Regions from separate parts of the Homo sapiens genome. Here regions 2, 3 and 4 are each linked to region 1. Evidence: promoter capture Hi-C in human tissues and cell types (Jung and others, 2019). All regions are on one chromosome and are shown on one strand. Each heading gives the region's core, a stretch centred on a gene start or on the middle of the fragment in contact. The rest is flanking DNA. Distances are from core to core; before and after follow the strand shown. Region 1 holds the start of SST (somatostatin). Region 2 overlaps LOC107986167 (a long non-coding RNA gene). Region 3 has its middle 49 kb from the start of TPRG1-AS1. Region 4 has its middle 13 kb from the start of TPRG1-AS1.

What was found. Contacts are between HindIII fragments. The study calls those that stand out against the background at their distance.
Region 2: a contact is called between a fragment that was not itself captured here and the fragment with the promoter of SST in region 1, in 1 of the 25 tissues and cell types used here (aorta).
Region 3: a fragment that was not itself captured here is called in contact with the fragment with the promoter of SST in region 1 in 1 of the 25 tissues and cell types used here (IMR-90 fibroblasts).
Region 4: a contact is called between a fragment that was not itself captured here and the fragment with the promoter of SST in region 1, in 1 of the 25 tissues and cell types used here (hippocampus).

The regions. Positions count from the first base shown.
Region 1 is chr3:187,668,776-187,672,001 of GRCh38, forward strand. SST (somatostatin) reads right to left here and starts at 1,619. Exons shown (of 2, transcript NM_001048.4): 1 at 1,379-1,619; 2 at 137-502. The coding sequence starts at 1,516. The coding sequence ends at 290. The HindIII fragment of the contact is 6,645 bases long and covers 1-3,226 here.
Region 2 is chr3:189,083,550-189,086,775 of GRCh38, forward strand. The region is part of intron 2 of LOC107986167 (a long non-coding RNA gene); the gene reads right to left. It also overlaps a transcript of TPRG1 not described here. Among named protein-coding and RNA genes, the nearest start is that of TPRG1, 87 kb to the right of the region's middle. The HindIII fragment of the contact is 4,807 bases long and covers 1-3,226 here.
Region 3 is chr3:188,994,588-188,997,813 of GRCh38, forward strand. It overlaps a transcript of TPRG1 not described here. Among named protein-coding and RNA genes, the nearest start is that of TPRG1-AS1, 49 kb to the left of the region's middle. The HindIII fragment of the contact is 7,765 bases long and covers 1-3,226 here.
Region 4 is chr3:188,932,948-188,936,173 of GRCh38, forward strand. No RefSeq gene overlaps it. Among named protein-coding and RNA genes, the nearest start is that of TPRG1-AS1, 13 kb to the right of the region's middle. The HindIII fragment of the contact is 3,806 bases long and covers 1-3,226 here.

The DNA.
Region 1 (3,226 bases), core at 369-2,868:
TATTGCCACCGAGAATTTTAAATAGATGTTTGTGAACATTGGAGTACCTATCTCAAATAACTTTACTGAAACCGCCACTCAAGCTTATTATGTATTATTGAACAAAAAGATTTACTCAATAGAAACCAAATTCACATTTTTCATAATTTCACCATAATTTTATTTTGTATTTACAGTTTTCAGTTTCTAATGCAAGGGTCTCGCTGAAGACTTGGAGGATTAGGGAAGAGAGATGGGGTGTGGGGGCGAGGGATCAGAGGTCTGATATGGACAATACTAGTTAAGAAAGCTAACAGGATGTGAAAGTCTTCCAGAAGAAATTCTTGCAGCCAGCTTTGCGTTCTCGGGGTGCCATAGCCGGGTTTGAGTTAGCAGATCTCTGCAGCTCAAGCCTCATTTCATCCTGCTCAGCAGCCTGGGACAGATCTTCAGGTTCCAGGGCATCATTCTCCGTCTGGTTGGGTTCAGACAGCAGCTCTGCCAAGAAGTACTTGGCCAGTTCCTGTATAGGGCAGAAGGGATAGAAAAAGAGAGAAAGAGAAGTGGGGAGGACAATGGAAAAAATTTGAAAAGCCTAAATTAAAGAACAGATTTGGTCACACACAAAATCCAGTTTTTACAGCTGCGCATTTTTTGTCACATTTAAAATCAATCAAGGATATAAAAATAAGGATAGTTGCTATAATTACCAAGTTACACAAAAAGGCTTTAAGAGCTCAAATGTTTCTGCAACCTTTCTGTCCCTGTAGACTTAACACACACACACACACACACACACGCACAAACACACACACACACACACACACACACATAAAGACCGTTCTGGTAAGATAAAGTGTGTGCCAACAGTTTAATTCAATTTTCACATCACGAGCTACAAAGTAGAATTGTTTTACCATTTTTACCAAGTAAACTGTAGGGGAACGAGACTTCTCACAATCTCAAACATACGGCGTTCGGTCTTTAGATTGCCCCTTTGCCCTAGTCCCGACGTTTGGAAGTGAGGTACGCTAAGAGGTAGCAGCTTCAGAGGTCTGCGTTTCAGCACCTGGGTCAGCGCTTCCCAGGGTCAGCACCAGGGATAGACGCCATTGTCGCTTCGTGCCCAGACAACTACCCAGATTTTGTAATTTTCTTGAATGCCAAGTAAGAACTCACCTGAACTGTGACCGACTGCGCTTATCATGGGGGAAAAAAAGAGTTAGAAGGGGATTCTAGCCTTTGATAGTTTTCTCAAGAGCTTCGGGAGCTGAGGGACCCAGAAAAGCACCAAAACTCTTTAGAAGGACTGAGCATCCCTTACGTCCAAACCAATGGGGCAGGAGCAAGGCTTAGGGAGGGCTGGAGAATCCGGGAGACGTCGAGGGAGTCTCCTTACCTGCTTCCCCGCGGCAGCAGCCAGGGACTTCTGCAGAAACTGACGGAGTCTGGGGTCCGAGGGAGCGCCGGTGACACAGCCCAGGGCCAGGACGATGGACAGCGCAGCCAGCGCGCACTGGAGGCGGCAGGACAGCATCTCGGCGCCGCGAAAGCCGAGCTGGAGAGTGGCTGGTCAAACTCTAGGCGCGGATCAGCAGGCAGCAGCGATGGCTCCGAACCTCGCTCCTAAAGCGGCTTGTGTGCTCTCAACCGTCTCCCTCTGTTTTAAACTCTCTCTCTGACGTCAGGCTAGGAGGCGCCCCCAGATCTCACCAGCCCTTTTACGCACCATTAGCCTCGCAAAATCAATCACAGAAGACAGGGGAGGTGACAAGATCTAAAGTGGCTTACTTAAAAAAAAAAAAATACTGCACACGCACAGGCACACACAATTCCACATGCCCCACGATTTATACAATCTTTTATTTTCACTCAGTGCTATGAGCATACACATTCCACAATTTCACTCCCACACATGCACACTCAATTACACACAAACAGAGGCTCAAACACTCAGCTCTTAAAGAGCAAATACACTATCACCCTTAAATGCACACAAATGTACCCAGACAACTCCATCTGTCATCATACTCTAACATTTTAGGAAGGCCCAACAAGCAACAGGGCATGTGTATGGTAGGTGGAGATCAGAATCATTCCTCTAATAACAGATTTGAGAATGAAATATGGACAGTAGAAGGACTGAGCCCTCTTTATTTCCTCCATTATCTCATAAAAAGCCTTGAAGATGTAACGGGGCTCTAAAAGAACTTCACTTTTCTCTACAATGGGGGAGAAGGTACCTCTGGCTCACCCTCCCTCCCTCTTTCTCAGCAACTGAGACTTCTGATCTACCTGCCTTTCTATTGTGACCATATATATGTATGAGTGTGTGTATATGTACGGGAGGGAAAGAGAGAGAGAGAGATTGAAATGGACTTCATTTTGGTGCTGAGAAATTTAGAGCTGGAAGGCAATCTAAGAAATTATTCAATAAACCTCAGAATTTGAATCAGTAAGGCAGAGTAATGGTCAGTAAATTGTTCTCCTTCACATACTGCACACTTTGAGCAAAACCAGACCTCCACATTCCAAAGCCAGTGTTCCTTCTACTGAGCTCTGAGTTTTCTAACAGATTCCTGGCCGGTAAGCATAGTTTTATGTCAGGAAGCCCCAGTTTAGACATATAAGGTCTAGGAACTCCCAGAACATATGTGACCACTATTGTATATCTATATGTGGAAAGGATCAAAAGATTCTTGGTTAAATTCAGCTCTGCCTGATCTCCTAGAAACAAAGAAAGTTTAAGAAAACCTGTCCTTGAATTCTGATTGAACTCTGGTTAAATGTTTACTGTTCAGGCCAGAGTTCTGACTGCTTTTATCTAAATAGTTCCTTACTGAGGAAGGACCAGCTAATTTCCTAGCATGGACGAGATGATCCCTACAGGATCTTTAAGAGCTGTTATCTTATGAGCTTCAAAAAAGCCAATATTAGCTAAAAAGATATGCTGCATCTCTGGAAACCATGCGAAGCTCATATTAGGTATTAAAATATTCTCAGTACTTAGACCCGAACCACAGTGTTGAGAGGCAGAAGGGTTTGGGAAGTATCCTGAATGGCTTGAATAATTGTCACTATTTCTTTTTGTGCTTGTAATCCAAGGCAAAGCGGAAATGCACAGCAAGAAGTGTTAAAGTTTCCAGGTCTTGACAAGGCCAGCCAAGACTAAGCACAAAGTGGGGCATTAAAAAGTCATTCACATGTGTTGGAGTAGTCTAAGAGATCAATGAATCTGGAGCTGTGG
Region 2 (3,226 bases), core at 516-3,015, 1.4 Mb after region 1:
ATCATCCTTCCCTCTCTAGATCTGTTTTCCTATCTGGAAAATGAGGATTTGGGATTGGGTCTCAAAGGTTCCTCCTAGGTCTAACAGAATTAACCTCCCAATTGTATTAATCTGTTGTCAGTTAATCAAACAAAATATTTTCCTAGTGCCTATATCAAGTTTCTACTGCCAAATTCTAGAGATGGAATTATAAGTATATGTTGCCTGTGATGCTTGTCAGGTCCAGGTTCAAAACCCATTTTTGTCATTCACTGGCTGTTAATTTTCTTTATCTCTGATCTTCAGCTTCTTCATAGGAACACTGAGGATAGTAACACCTCCTGTTAGGGTTATTAAAAACAAAATGGGTCAGGCATGGTGGCTCACGCCTGTAATCCCAGCACTTTGGGAGGCTGAGGCAGGCGGATCACCAGAGATTGGGAGTTTGAGATCAGCCTGGCTAATGTGGTGAAACGGCTGGGCGTGGTGGCACATGCCTGCAATTCCAGCTACTTGGGAGGCTGAGGCAGAAGAATCACTTGAACCTGGGAGGCGGAGGTTGCAGTGAGCCAGGATTGCACTGTTGCACTCCAGCCTGGGTGACAGAGTGAGACTCCGTCTCCAAAAAAAAAAGAAAAGAAAAAAATGTACCATGCGTTGAAGACATAATAGGTGCTCAGTGAATATTGCCAACAATTATTTTATTATAAATTAGATATTCTAATAATGGACACTATTAACCTATACATAAAAATGTGGCTTTATAAAGTACCAATAGAAATACCAATACGTATGAGCTTGTCAAGGGGTCTTACTGAATTAAGAAACTTTCTGCTCAATATATATTCTATCATAAAAATAAGGAGCCATCCTTTGAGAATGCCCTGTTCTTTAGCTGTTTCATTACTCAGGCTTGCCTCAGAATTCCACTCAGCTTGTCATTCCTCATGTTTCTTTTCCTCTGACAAGAAACTGAGAAAGTCCAAGGATCTTTTCCATGTATGCAACTTAAAGATTTCAACCTAATTAAAGTAACTTTGCTTAATTAGGTTAAATATAACTTCTTTTATTCTGAATCAGAATCTAGAGAAAGCTATTCATTAACTAAGCTTTCTGTCTCTCACTATGCGTTTCTCTCAGAACTGCCATCTCTCCTCCACCCTCCACTTGGAACACTGTTATGTGGCCTAAATGGATGCTGGTCTTGTAAACCTATGTTTCCTGTGTAGTATCTAGATACAGCCCATTATCTGACATCATGCGTAAGAGGAAACTTCCTAAGTCCACACAGTTGCTACAAATAGTTACGCAACACTTGACCTTACCCAAATGTTTCAGGAGAGACTTCGCACCCCCAAAGGAAGCCAACCATATTTTTGTCATTTCTCTTGCCCCAGAAATAGTAGATGCTTGATAAAACATGTTAAATTACAGTAACAGACAATATGTGCACATGCTTTACCAAGAATAGTTGCAAACATTTTCTCATATGATCCTTGCAGCAGTCCTCTAAGAAAAATATGATTGTGCTGTTTAACAAATGAGGACACGTAGATTGAGTGATTTTATCCAAGTTACATGAATCATAAACTAGTAAAGCCTTGCCTTGACTCTAAAAACAAAACAAAAGCGAAAAGCAAGTACCGGGCTCTGTTACCAAGTGGGGCATAGGTACATTACGGTCCTATAGGTGGGGTGAGGTGAAGGATACTCAATGCCTGAAGGTGTGTCAGTCTGTCAATGAGCTATTCAGCTGTAAGCTATCCCCACAATTCATAGACATGCAATTCACATCTCATAGTATTTGCAAGACATGCAATTCATATCTCATAGTATTGGAAAACAAAAGGGAAAGATGGCTGGCGGTGGATACACATTTTCATTAATGTTTGGATTCCTCGTGTCTGTGTGTGTGTGCATGTGTGTGTGTGTGTGTGTGTGTGTGTATTATGGAGTTCCAGTAGCTGAATGTTGCAGCTAGACCAATGTTTGCTTCCCTAACAGGAGATAGCTGTTGCTGTCTGGTTCATTCTTTCCTGGGAGAGTCCTAATTAATATATGTTCCTCTCTTAACATGAGCTAATAACTAACTCCTCAGCCTAATCAAGAAGTATTTGAAGCAAATATACTGAGATTACAACTTTCCTTCCAGTTGAAGGATGACATCAGCAGCTTTATAGTGGAAACACTTTAACTTCTCAGGAATAAGTGATCTGATCCATAATGAAAAGTTCAAAGGCACAAATATTGTTACCGTTATGAAATTAATTGAAGATTAAAATCCATTTACACTTGAGGATATGGATGTATTTCATTCATTTTGCTTTCAATAAAATAAGAGTCATAAAATCATGAAATTAAGTGTTCAATCACTGTATTAGTCAGGGTTCTCTAGAGGGACAGGACTAACAGGATAGATGTATATATGAAAGGGAATTTATTAAGGAGTGCTGACTCACACCATCGCAAGATGAAGTCCCACAATAGGCCATCTGCAAGCTGAGGAGCAACGAAGTCAGTCTGAGTCCCAAAACCTCAAAAGCAGGGAAGCCGACAGTGCAGCCTTCAGCCTGTGTCTGAAGGCCTGAGAGCCCCTGGCAAACCACTAGTGTAGGTCAAAGGGTCCAAAAGCTGAAGAACTAGGAGTCTGATGTTCAAGGGCAAGAAGCATCCAGCACAGGAGAAAGGTGGAGGCCAGAAGGCTCAGCCAGTCTAGTCCTTCCGCATTCCTCTGCCTGCTTTTATCCTAGCTGTGCTGGCAGCTGATTAGATGGTGCCCACCCAGATTGTGGGTGGGTCTTCTTCTCCCAGTCCACTGATTCAAATTTTTTTTTTTTTTTGAGATAGGGTCTCACTCTCTTTCCCAGGCTCCCAGGCTGCACTGCAGTGGCACAATCAAAGCTCATTGCATCCTGGAGCTTCTGGGCTCAAGCAATCCTCCCTCCTCAGCCTCCCCAAAATTCTGGGACTGCAGGCATGTGCCACCACACCCAGCTAATTTTTTTTTTTTTTTTTTGAGATGGAAGTTTGCTCTTGTTGCCTAGGCTGGAGTGCAATGTCGTGATCTCGGCTCACCACAACCTCCGCCTCCCGGATTCAAGTGATTCTCCTGCCTCAGCCTCCCAAGTAGCTGGGATTACAGGCATGTGCCACCACGCCCAGCTAATTTTTTGTATTTTTAGTAGACACAGGGTTTCTCCATGTTGGTCAGGCTGGTCGAACTCCTGGAGGAGTTTTTTTGTTCTTG
Region 3 (3,226 bases), core at 238-2,737, 1.3 Mb after region 1:
GAGAGTTGTCTTAATTGATGTGATATCCACTTGAACCCAGGGTGTCTGTGATATTAGTTATTATTAGTCTCCTCAGGGAGGTTCTTGATGCATTGTAACCTGGGGCTCAGGAGTTGAGCAAGGATGAATAAATTGAACTTTAAAGGCTAAGTTTGAAATATTTTTTCTTATCTTCTGAAGTCAGAAAGATTTCAATGTTTATATTATTATGACTGTAAAAGCAAGGTTTATTGTTAAGATAAATAATAAATTATGATTGCTTGAGTTTTTATACAGTTCTTTGTTTTCCCTGAAGTCAATAGTTGCCTTGTTTATTAATTTTTCTTATTTTTAAATACATATAACTAATTTGTTTCCAGATGTTCTGTTTTATAAAATACTCTGCATTATTATTTTATACACAACCAAATGCACTAAATCATCCATCAAGTGCATGTAGCAATTGGTACCCAACTGTTAGTTATATATCCAACATCCATTGTCCTTTTTTCTTTTACTAATGGGAGCCGCATACAAGCTTAAGGTAACAATATGTCCAGCTTTAGAAATCATTTCCTAGCCTTTCTTGCAGCAAATATGTCCATAAGATACAGCCTTCTAAAGAAGATGTAAATAGCTGTCTACTGGGGTTTAGGGACAGGTCCTTTCCTGTTAAAGGCATTGCCTATTTCTCCTTATTACCACCACCATCACATCCTCTTCTTCATCCTCCTTCTCCTTGTTTTTCCCCTCCTTTTCTGCTCTGTCTTCTTCCTTCTTGTCTGAATATACTGATTTTAGGTGAGGGGTTGAGCAGCCTTTACATCACATGAGGAAACTGTAAGAATAAAGATATAAGGAGCAGGATTTTAGAGACAGTAATGGCAATGCAAAAACAGTCCAGCACTTTTCATCTGTGGATCTCTGCTTAAATGTTGGAAAATATCTTTTTAATTTAATGACTTTGGTAAGGCTTATAAAATATCCAGCCAAATACAACCCTAACTGATACCAATGACGTTTCCAATCAGTGTATTTCTCAATAAATTATGTTGATACATGTGTCTAGCTGTGTGGGAAAAAAGGAAGTGAAATCTTTTCTTTTTACACCAAAATTAATTCTGTAGGAACGAATAATATCAATGTAAAAAATGAGAGAAACCATTGAAATTTTAGAAAAACCTACATTTTATAAAATATAATCTTCCATTGTGGAAGGTTTGTCTAAGTATTACTGAAACCACCAAGATAAAATGATCACTAAATATAACCAAATAGCAATTAAAATTTTCTATGCAGATGTCTTAATGAGGCAAGTAATTAATTGCTAAGAAAATTATGACCATACTAAAGCAGAGAGCTAATATCCTTAATATATAAAGAGCTGTTCAATAGCAACAAGAAAAATGTATCGAAGTTAAAGAAAAATTGTCAAAGGAAACAGACAATTCCAAGAAAAAAGAAAAGCATCTGTGGAAAGCCTCTCACAAAACAGACTAAATAAATAAAATACAATAACAAATAAAAATAATTAAAGTAGATATAATGAAAGAAGCCAATTAAAATTATAAACAATATCCTCAGAGAGATATAAAAATATAGAATATTCTGGAAATAAGAATATGATGTTTCATATCTTTAAAAACCAAACAAGAAACAAGAACAACTGGAGAATAAAAAAGAGCTTTGGGAGATTAAAAATATGTAATAAAAAGGTCTGAAGAATGGCTGGAATACAGACATAACCGGGAAATTAAAATAAAAAAGACAAAGGACATAGTTAATAGAATAAAGAAGAAAATTGAAAGACTAAACCATATCCTCAAAGAGTCAACTATCAGGAGCTCTGGAAATAAAGACCAGAGTAAACAGTGAAGAAGAAATTACCCAATCAATGATTGAAAAAAAATTCCCAGATCCAAAGGACCTGATTTTTCAGGTTGAAGATGTACATGTCATGGCTATCATAAGAAGTGAAAAAAAGACCAAGAATACTGTGGACAGAGAGAAGTTTTCTAAAAGCTACTAGGAGAGAAGATGCCATATACAAAAAGATCAGAAATAAAAATGGCATCTCCATCTATTTGTATTTTACTTTAACGTTTAATCTGGAAAATATGTTGAAATTAATTAAATATGTTTTCTACTGAAATTGAGTCTTAAACTGTGAGATACCTCTTAGCTATGAGCAACATGACTACAAGAGGGACTTGGTGCTAGAGGGTAGGTACACTGGCACAAACTATTTTCCTTGCTGGAAAAACAACTCAAAGCAAGTGAGGTTCGTCAGTGCCAGTTCGAAGTGCTTTCTTTCTTTCTCTTTTTTTTTTTTTTTTTCTGAGTCTCACTCTGTCACCCAGGTTGGAGTGCAGTGGTGCGATCTTGGCTCACTGAAACCTCTGCCTCCCAGGTTCAAGTGAATCTCCTCCCTCAGCCTCCTGAGTAGCTGGGATTACAGGCGCGTGCCACCATACCTGGCTAATTTTTTATATTTTTAGCAGAGACAGCGTTTCACCAAATTGGTCAGACTGGTCTCGAACTCCTGACCTCGTGATCCACCAGCCTCAACCTACCAAAGTGGTGGGATTACAGGCATGAGCCGCTGCACCCGGCCAGAAGTGCTTTTTAAATTCATGTCATTTATGTTTTCTTCTCTCTCTCCCTCCTTCTATGCATTTTTTTCTTTAGCAAACATTTTCAAGATTTGACATAGGTAGAATAATTTCTAAGCTGAGAAGCATCCATTCTATTGCCTTATGTGTCACTTTTCCCCTGGGGCTCTCACTGTAATCGCTGGCTCCATCAGATGGTCCTCTTTAAATACTCTCTTACTTTCTGTACAGTTCAGAAAATCTTTCCTCAGATTTTTAAATACATCAAACTCTGAGGAAAGCTATAGGAAAATGTTTTTCTTATGAAGTACAGTGTAACGTTTTGATCTTCTAGAGTGATCAGTTGTTCCAGTTTGCCAGAGGCTGAGAGGGTTACTGGAACATGAGAATTTCAGCTTTAAAACCAGGATAGTTCTAGATAAACTGAGATGAGTTGGTCACCCTCGATCTGACTCAAGTAATTCACTGTCTGAGATAGCTACCCTTCAGCCTCAAAGAATGGCCACAACCTCTCAGGTTCCTGAAACAAAGTTTATCATATCTATAGTTCCTGGAAATATCTTCATGAAGGGACATCCGAACAATTACATTCCAGGAGCTGTCTCCTATATATCTTTATGACTATATCACGAAGT
Region 4 (3,226 bases), core at 464-2,963, 1.3 Mb after region 1:
GGATTACGGGCATGAGCCACCACCCCCGGCCTATCTCCCTAATTTCTTTCTCTTTTTTTTTTTTTTTTGAGACAGAGTCTTGCTCTGTCGCCCTGGCTGGAGTGCAGTGGCACAATCTCTGCTCACTGCAAGCTCCGCCTCCCAGGTTCATGCCATTCTCCTGCCTCAGCCTCCCGAGTGACTGGGACTACAGGCGCCCGCCACCAAGCCCGGCTAATTTTTTTGTATTTTTAGTAGAGACGGGGTTTCACTGTTTTAGCCAGGATGGTCTCCATCTCCTGACCTCGTGATCCACCTGCCTTGGCCTCCCAAAGCTTAATTTCATTTTGAAAGAAGATATTTGAAAAAAATAAGGCAGTTTACTGGGGATGGCAATTATGATAGGAAGAAGAGATTTAGAGAGTCAGACACTGATTGTTTCGTAAAGGCAGGGGACTTTGATTAAAAAAGTGAAAGTAATTTTCTGAAATGTCATTAGAGGCCTAAGAGGACTATGCACAGTGAAACACCCTGAAGTGGGTGGTTCTATAGCACTGAGACACCTCAAGTGTGCTCTACCAAGTGTAGCTGGGGTGGCACAGATACACAGAGGCCTCTGACTAGGATGCCCAGGGGCCTGGAGAGGAAGCTGCTCATCTGCAGGACTTACCCTTGGGAGGTTCCTGGGCTGGCAATGCCTGGGAGAAGATAACCCAGGATATAGTCAGGGGTCCTGGATTTGAGACCCAACTCTGGTACTTAATAGTTATTTGTTTCCTTGCCTGCCTAGACTCAGTTTTGTTATTTGTAAGTTGGCAATGAGACTAGCTTTTCTGTGTTGATGTGAAGATGAAATTATATATGGATGCACTAACTGTAAAGTGCTATAAATTGAATGATTATTATTGGAGAGCATGTGCAAAGAACATCTAAATGAGATTTTATTCACTGTGCATTATTAATTTTCCTTTCTAAAAATCAGTGTCTCCTGCCACTAATTTATCATTATAATAATTCTTATTCATTTTAGATAATGAGAGAAATCACAATGATGCTTTCTGGTGGAATGACTCCTTTAGTTAAATAAATCTCCAAGTGCTTAAAGGTGAATTTCCCTCTGGCTTTAAGAGATTGATGGCTTATACTATCTTACAGTTAGTTGAAAAAAGTTCATTGTCCGTTTTAGCCTTGGGGAGTATGCTCTCAAACTGTAGTCACAAAATAATTTCACTCTGCTGTATAAGAAGCTCAATTCAAGTAAACCAAATTTATTGAAAACTTCCTCTTGCCAGGAACTATGTTAATGAAGGACCATTCAGAGATGAATGTGACCTTCACCCTACTATTTAGGGGCTCACTCTGGTGGAACAAGTAGACACACATACAAAATTCAGTGCAACATAATGAGGGATCAGTTCTAAAATAGAAGTATTATTTTGTGCCATTGGAAATGGAAGAAAGAAAAAGCTAATTCTGAACTGAGGGTATGTGGGACATACAAGTAGAGAAGGTACAGTCCAAGCTTGTATAATCCATGGCCCGTGGGCCTCATGCAGCCCAGAATAGCTTTGAATTTGGCCCAACACAAATTTATAAACTTTCTTAACACATTATGAGATTTTTTGGTGATTTTTTTTTTTAAGACAAAGTCTCGCTCTTGTTGCGCCAGGCTGGAGTACAATGGCATGATCTCAGCTCACTGCAACCTCTGCCTCCTGAGTTCAAGCGATTCTCCTGCCTTAGCCTCCCAAGTAGCTGGGATTACAGGCACCTGCCACCACGCCCAGCTAATTTTTGTATTTTTAGTAGAGACGGGGTTTCACCATGTTGGCCAGGCTGGTCTCGAACTCTGACCTCAGGCGATCCACCTGCCTCAGCCTCCCGAAGTGCTGGAATTACAGGCGTGAGCCCCCACACCCAGCCGGTGATTTTTTTTTCAAGCTCATCAGCTACTGTTAGTGTTAATGTACTTTATGTGTGGCCCAAGACAATTCTTCCTCTAATGTGGCCCAAGGAAGCCAAAAGATTGGACACCCCAGAAACAGTCTTGAAAACTTACTAGAACTTTGGCAGAATTAGAGAGGGAAGGGCCTGTTGGAGCAATGGAGAGCTTAGAGATTTTGGGGGGAAAAATCTTTTTGGGGGAATGGCAAGGGTCTGAAGCTTATTGGAAGACAGTCATGAACAAGCGGTCTGGAGCCAGACGAGTGCGGAGGACCCTTGAGAAACAGATGAGGTTTGGTTTTATTCTGTAGACAAAAGTGCCTTTGGAGGTGTCAGAGTAGATCAGATCAGAGCACAGCTTTTGTGAGAAAAGTGTGTCAGTCGTAAGCAAATGTACGGTGCCTTGCTTTCTTTTCCTGCTCCCCAGCAGGCTGGGTTTTAGGAAGGAAAGGCTGAGCAAAAGCTTAGGAAATGGATCTGACTGACTACTCCCACAAACCATTCTTGACCTTCTTTTGTAAATACCCAATTACCTGTTCATTTCCCCAATTAACTCATCAGTGAAATCAAATCAATCATTATTAATTCTAACTTTAATAAACATTTTTTAGTTTACATATATGATGCTCTTCCTCAAATCATAAATAACTGCATGATGTGTGTGAACTTTCCAAAGGTAGTTTAGGTGGAGAAAAAAATGACATTCAGTTAACAAGCTTATCAGAAGCTGAATCATTACAAATGACAGATATTAAAAATGTAATTAGAATATATATTGTCTAGGAAGACATGCCATATTAATTAGGGGTAAAAAGCCTATGTTTCAGCTCTCAGAATATAAAGTTGAAAGAAGCCTGTGGATTAATATCCATAATCATGGGCAGCGTTGTAGCATGGTAGGTTAGCACAGCACTGTAGTGTCAGAGCACCTGAGTTAAATCCTGGTTCTGTCCCTGTGAGCTATGTGACCCCAGGTAAGTATATAATCTCACTGAGCTTTAGCTTACCCACCTGTAAAGGTTAGATGAAAACAGCATTCTATCTCAGAGTTGCAAAGACTAGGTGAGCTAATATATTAATAAGTAGAACTCTCAGAACAGTGCCTGCTGTATCATAGATGCTATGTAAGTATTACCTATCATTATTTACTTTTTTTTTTTTTTTTTGAGACAGGGTCTTGCTCTGTCACCCAGGCTGGAGTGCAGTGCACAATCACAGCTCACTGCAGCCTCAACTTCCCAGACTTAAGCTATTCTCCCACTGCAGCCTCCTGAGTAGCTAGGACTACAGGTGCATGCTGCCG